2 separate regions of the Homo sapiens genome follow, and region 1 is linked to region 2. Evidence: promoter capture Hi-C in human tissues and cell types (Jung and others, 2019). All regions are on one chromosome and are shown on one strand. The core of a region is centred on a gene start or on the middle of the fragment in contact, and the rest is flanking DNA. Distances in the headings are between cores, read along the strand shown.

Region 1 (3,579 bases), core at 1,010-3,509, 200 kb before region 2:
CAAATAAATGCTCACAGGGAAAAATCGGAAATTGGTCTTATTGACTTAGCGGTGTAGATCTCCCTCCCATCAAGTATACAGTTCTTCAGTGTACCTGTAGTTAGTTCTGGATAATTATAAGCAAATTAACAAGGATTTTTTACATTGTTGTTCCCCATTTCATGACTAAGTTGCTGCCATTAGCACCATACCTGTGAGCTAAGCAGTGGGGAGGTTGATTTTTTTTTTTTCAAGCCTAATCTTATTTTGAGGAGAAATCGGTTCTCAAGAGAATCTTCTCTCTCAATCCTACTTCCAGGACACTGATGGGTGCAAGCCATTATTGATTTCCACAGTCTGTCAAGAGTATAAATGAGAAGTCTGAGTCTCTTGTCTCAAGAAGCCAAGCTTCTGATGTAGGCAGATAAAAGAAACTATGTTTGGAGTAGCTTATCATCATTAACAACCATAAGCATTTCCTGGCTAATGGCTCTTCACATGTAAAGTGCCCTGCTGTGGAATCCGGGGGCTTCAGGTCCCTGGTGCTCAAGTTGTTTACAGTCCAGTCTACGAGACAAGCAGAACACTAAAATGGGAACTAGTGTAGCAAATGCCAAGCATCCAGTGAAGTCTGAAAGGGCTAGAAGTTCACCTGAACACAGTTGTCCTTGCTGCCAACGCCTGAAGGGTGGGTTGGTGCTGACGCTCCGTGGTTGAGACTTTTACGTGAATGGTTCAAAATGTCCTGTCCTCAGGGAGAGGGGTTCCAGTTCTGCTGGGAGTGGGTGGGCAGGGTGCAGAAAGCGGTAGACCCGAAGCTGCCTGTGAGAAGCCAGCCGCTGGAACCCATCTTTGCTTGGCTTGCTGGTCCTTGGCTTTGATCTGGGGGCACTTTCTCATGAGAGTTCTTCCTAGTCCTCCTCTGTCCCATGTGACAGGCTCCTCCCAGTTTGGTCCCGTTTCAAGGGAAATGAACTGTTTGTCCAGTCACCATCTCTGGGCTGTGTAAACAAGCAGATGGGCAATTAGTGGCTGTGTCAGGGCCTTGGACTGCTGCTGTGCTTGCACAAATGGAGACTCATCACTCATCTTTTGGACTATCGTCGTGCAAGCATGAGATAATGGGGACTGCTGGGCTCTCGAGATTTCTTCATGTTGTTTAGATTTCAGTCTTCGTGTCACAATCCTATTGTTCAAGCGTTCTGGCAACAGCCACTGTCATTCAGCTCATTTGGGAGAAAAAATAATAATTTGGATTCTGTTGCCTTGATTTTTTTCTCATTAAACCATTTTTTAATGAGCAGGAAGTAGGACCAAGGCATAGAGATCTGTAGGGTAATATCTTTCCTTAATTAGCCAAATGCTGACAACAGAGGTCACCCAGTTGCAGGAGATTTTTGCCCTCCCGCTTTAAGCGGGGCTTTAAGCGGGCATGTGTGTTGTACACACAGGCTGGAGGCCAGGAGAGGACAGAGCCTGCAGTCAGGTCACTCGTAACCCCACGGCTGCTGCTGTTTGTGTTTACTTGAGCATTCACTGCGCCTGCTATGTTTTCCTCTTGGATCCAGAATGCCAAGAGGGTCCCTTCAATCTGCCATTTATCTCCTCTTGAGATGCACAGAAATCGGGCACCAGTTGCTCAGTCTCCAGACTGTTCTCAGCATCAGACAATGGCCCTGTGTTTCCTTTGCTCTTTTTCCATACATTGGCCTCACCTCTCCGATTTTTTTTCTTTCTCCCCTTCCGCTTTTAATTTTTTCTCTCTTACCTCGGTTTGAGCGTCTGCCTTCTTTCATAGCTTTCTGTTTTCTCTCAGCATCTCCTCCACCCCCTTATGTTTTCAGTTTCTTGTGACTCGCTCTCCAGATTCCTTCATATTCAGGAATCACTGTCTTTGCCCAACATTGTTGTGAACGTGCCGGCCTTTTATTGTGGTTGTTCATCCCTTTCCCTCTTGCCTTCATTGCTCCCCGAGCCCTCCACCTCAGCCTCCTAAAACCTTTGAAGTTCTTCAGACTGGAAGTGTCTCTGGATCATGCTACATAAATGAGGCAATAGCACTTGGGATCCATTCAGCATGAGGACTGTGGAAATGATAGTCTTTCTCCCATTTTGCCCTAGGATGGGCATCTGTTGATGGGCAAGGAATTAACAGAGAGCACATCCCATTCTCTGTGACCAATCACTACTATTCTTTTTCAGTTGTTCATTCAGCATTTATAAGTTATCTACTATATGTGAGACTCTGAGGAAAAAAAGAAGAATCAGACACTATTCCAGTCTAAAAGACCCTATATATCTGACGCAAAATCTTACTCCACCTTTCAGGAGCATTAGATATAGCTGATCAAATGATGGATTGAAAACTCCTTCTTGCTTTAGGTCCTAACCCTCTTTTGTCTTCTCTCTACTTCATGGGCATTCCTCAATCTCCTAAGCTGGTTCTTCATCTTCCCAATCTCTAAACACAAGAGGGCTTCAGGACTCAGTCCATGAACCCCTTGCCTTATCACTGGGGTTGCTGAGGTGCATAGAACCTTGAGACTTTCTGATGGATCAAGCATATAATAAAGAGACTGAGGGAGACAAGAGAAGTCACTGTCGCCAGAGTTAGATTCACTGCCACCGCCACCCCCAGGAGCCGCCAGAACCCTTATGTCGCCACCACCACCCAGATCCCTGCACCATGACATCAGAGAAGACCTTCAGGCCACACCACACCTTTGAACAAAGAGTAGAAGTTTGACTTCTCCGAGAGCAGCATCCACCCAAAATCTTGGTAGTAACAGAACGATACAAGGCTGAGAAGCAGCTTCCCGTCCTGGATAAAGCAATGTTCCTTGTACTGGACCACATCAACCTGAGTGAGCTCATCAAGATCATTAGAAGGTCCTTCCAGCTCAGTGCTAATCAAGCCTTCCTCCTGGCGGTGAACAGACACAGCATTGTAGCAGAGTGAGAAGGATGAAGATGGATTCCTGTACATGGTCTGTGTCTCCCAGGAGACAATTGGAATGAAATTGTCAGTGTAAAACTGAAAAAAAAAAAATGCATCTATTTTAGAATTTTTAAACCTTTACCAAGGAAAAAATAAAGGAATGTTACCCACTGAGATCGATCAGTTCATCTAATCACAGATCGTCAAACAGTAGTGTTCCCACCTAGGAGTGTCAGGAAGTTGTGTTTGTATTTGAAGCAGAAAACTGGGCTCCAAGTGAGCACGTTCAGCTTTGGAAACTATGTTATTTAACATAGGCTAGCTTGTTTTCAGATTTTAAAAGTTTAAAAAGAAAATACTTTGCATTCTAAAAAAAAAGAGAGAGACTGAGGGAGATGTATGCTCAAGCAATGGGTGTATCCTCTTGTTCTTCACCAAACAAGGGGAAAGTTTTACATTCATTTACATTCATTTTACAAGTTTGTAAGACATATACAGCTTAGGGAGAAAAATATGAAGGCCTCGGTTCTGGGGAGAAAGCATGCGGGCATTTGTAGTACTGAGACTAAAAGTAAGGGGAGAAAGAGTTGCTGAGGTAAAGCTAAGTTAGAATATGAATTATTGCTACTATAAATGACACTAAATAGAACCTGTGAAAAAGG
Region 2 (3,458 bases), core at 186-2,685:
TCAGGAAGACACAAATCAAGAAGCTCAGGAAGGTTGGGAGTGGTGGCAGGGAAACATTTCAGTTTAGCAAACATCCAATACGTTTGCGATCCTGAAAGGAAGGAAAATGTTCCTTAGATCCAGCCCTGCAATCTGCTGGGGTAGTTTGAGGTTTGTTTGCTCAGCCACATGCTGAGTGATCGTAGGCAAGTCCCTCAGTTTCCTCCTCTGCAAAACGGAGATAATTAAAGCATTTACCTTTTAGGGTTGTTGTGAGGGTGTGTGCAAATACATGTTAAGAGTGTTTAGGACAATGCCAGGCACAGAATGAGCCCCTATATTGCTATTATTATGTTGCTAACATTGCCTTAACAGTTCTGGAGGTTAGAATATGGGGAGGCAGTGGTGGTGAGAGGGAGTTAACTAGCCTGGGGGTGGGAGGGTCAACCTGTCCAAAATGTTGGTTTCTATGGGTATGTCTGCAAAACAAGTGAACATTATCCTTGCAGCTTACCCCACAGCTGCTTAACGTGTTTGGATGCATGCTTCAGGCAGCGGCCTTGCAAACCCTTTTTTTTTTTTTTTTTTTTTTTTTTTGAGACGGAGTTTCACTCTTGTTGCCCAGGCTGGAGTGCAGTGGCGCCATCTCGACTCACTGCAACCTCCACCTCCCAGGTTCAAGTGATTCTCCTGCCTCAGCCTCCCGAGTAGCTGGAATTACAGGCGCCCACAACCAAACCCGGCTAATTTTTGTATTTTTAATAGAGGCAGGGTTTCACCATATTGGTCAGGCTGGTCTCGAACTCCTGACCTCAGGTGATCCACCCCCTCCCCTCAGCCTCCCAAAGCGCTAGGATTACAGGCGTGAGCCACCAGGACCGGCGCAAACCCTCCTTCTAATCATTCTTCTACTGAGGATGGGGGATGGAGAGGTGGGAGGAGGCAAAATCGTGCATTTCCTTTACTGAAACAAAAATTTTTATACCCTCCAATTTCTTTTTCTGCAAAGAAAAGGCCTTTTCTAGCCACTAGATATAAAACCTTGCTCTCCAAAGAGCTGAGAGTAGCTGTTTAACAGCAAAATCTGCAATTCTGATGGAAAAGGCTGGAGGCAGACACGAGGCTCTCCATCTCCATCTTTCCCTTGTCCACTCTGAATGCAGGATGTCATCCCAGCAAACGCCGCTCTGATTTGATGAACTACACAATCTCCTCCCTCAGTACTCCCTTCCCCTTACTGATAGCCAAACATTCTAATCCCCTACGCATCCTTCGTCTGACCCCAGCCTCCACCTCAAGGATTTTAGCAGGACGCCCTCCCACAACTGGCAATACCAAATCTCGGGTTGGCGGCAGGCGGCCGAGCCGACATCAAAACTGTACTCACCGAGGGGCAGCCCGAGGAGCCTACTGCGGTATGGGCCTTGGTGGGGGTCAGGCCAGGAACGGGCGAACTGGAGAGCTAGTGCGTCACCCTCCTCCGCATCTTAGCTCCGCCCCGGCCCCTCCTCCAGCAGGTGGAAGCTGCCTCGCCAGGACTCCCCAGACTGCATCCCAGATAAGTGTGCCTCTCACCAGGAGCCGCACAGCTCTTCAACCCCCACATTCTGCATACAAACCTCTTGACTATGACATTTCCTAGAGACCCTCTTCAGCTCCATCGACCTCCATGTAAGTCATTCACCTCCTCAGTCTCAATTACAACGTGCCAGATCACCACTACAGCACACCTTTAATTTTGTCAACTTCTAGAATATGTTTTTTGTTTTTGTGTCTAAAGCCTTTCAGCTTCAAGAGGGAAGAGGCAATGAATGGTAGAGAGACAAAAGATGAAGTCCTAAGAACTTTTAATGGTGGCTATGATAAGGTATACCCTGCTCTGAGGGGCCTCTTACTAATCAGGAAAACTATGGGGATATTTAATACAAGAAGCCAGAAACTTCCATTAAAGTGATAAACTTGAAAATCTGTAGAAATATCAGCTCTGAGTGTTATTTCTAAACGTCCACACAAACCATCAAGTAAAATTCCACTTTGGCCTGAAGAGAAACCATACTCCCAGCATACTGTAGAAGTATGTCCAGGTAGTCCCAGATTCTTAAATAAGGGTTTATGGAGCACCTACTATGTGCAATCTTGAACACTGAAATTTGTTCAAATACTAAAATCAAAATGTAAAGCCATACAATAAATATGGCACTACAAATTTGATCAAGATGGAGGATGAGTAAAGAACCTGGGGGTCTCAAAACAAGTAACCTGATGAGGTTAGAATCCAGATCTATTTATCTTAGCTCTAGAGAGCAAATCCATTATCATCTACAGCAATTTTTATGCAATAAATAGAGGCTGGCAAAATTCATTTATGAGACACATGGCCTTTCATTTTGAAGCCAAGCCTCTTTCCCAGTACTTTTTCTTTCACGGATGCTCATCTGCTTCTTGCTTCTTGTTTCAATGCATGCTAAATCAACAGGACAAACACTATCCATTAAATGGCTCTAGGCTCACTGGCCATGCTGGAGTTAGTATTTATTATTGATGCACAGAGACTTTTTTCAATTCTGAGTTTTACTTTAGCTTTGTTCATTGTTATCTTCATTTTGTGGTTGAAAAAAATGAAGTCACTACAATTTACTGCTTTTGTGTTAAATTTAACTGAAATAGATCAAAATGCCTATGCTTCATTTGAAATTTGGTGTTTCAAAAATAAAACTTCATATATATTTAAGAGATCACAGAGGTTAGGTGCAGTGGCTCACGCCCATAATCCCAACACTTTGGGAGGCCAAGGTGGGAGGATCACAAGGTCAGGAGTTCGAGATCAGCCTGGCCAATATGGTGAAATCCCGTATCTACTAAAACTACAAAAATTAGCTGGGCGTGGTGGTGCATGCCTGTAGTCCCAACTACTTGGGAGGCTGAGGCAGAAGAATCGCTTGAACTCGGGAGATGGAGGTTGCGGTGAGCTGAGATTGTGCCACTGCACTCCAGCCTGGACGACAGAGTGAGACTCCGCCTCAAAAAAAAAAAAAAAAAAAAAAGAAAAGAAAACAAAAAACAAACTAACTAAAAAAGATCACAAAATTAAGGTTTAAATTCTGCCACAATTAAGAAAAACATGACTATTAAAATCCTACATTAAGTTCTTAGTGATCATATTATAGAATGTGGCCATGCAGTCTACTAAGTTCTATGTATTAAGTTGTTATTAGATAACCAAATTAATATTAGATCTTTATTTACATTTATAAGACAGTGAGAAGAACCCATGAGGTTACTGCACGTCCAGACACTTTCATATCATTTCCTCAAATATTCCATGAAGTTAGCAACATTATCTCTATTTTGTATAAGAAAAAATAAAAACGCATTAAATCAAGTTTAAAACAAAACTTTTCTGGCTCTCTAGTTACCCTACCTTCAAGCTAGTCACCTTCACATTCCTGTAATACTCCGTATAGCAGCTTTCAGCTAAC

The links. Contacts are between HindIII fragments. The study calls those that stand out against the background at their distance.
Region 1: a contact is called between a fragment that was not itself captured here and the fragment with the promoter of SCG5 in region 2, in 1 of the 25 tissues and cell types used here (H1 embryonic stem cells).

Annotation. Positions count from the first base shown.
Region 1 is chr15:32,836,413-32,839,991 of GRCh38, reverse strand. All of the region lies in intron 17 of FMN1 (formin 1), which reads left to right. It also overlaps the pseudogene LOC107984761. Among named protein-coding and RNA genes, the nearest start is that of GREM1-AS1, 120 kb to the right of the region's middle. The HindIII fragment of the contact is 4,749 bases long and covers 1-3,579 here.
Region 2 is chr15:32,639,687-32,643,144 of GRCh38, reverse strand. SCG5 (secretogranin V) reads right to left here and starts at 1,435. Exons shown (of 6, transcript NM_001144757.3): 1 at 1,367-1,435. The region is part of intron 9 of ARHGAP11A-SCG5 (ARHGAP11A-SCG5 readthrough); the gene reads right to left. It overlaps ARHGAP11A (Rho GTPase activating protein 11A), which reads right to left. Exons shown (of 12, transcript NM_014783.6): 12 at 3,204-3,458. RefSeq lists enhancers at 663-1,301, 1,302-1,942. The HindIII fragment of the contact is 11,081 bases long and covers 1-3,458 here.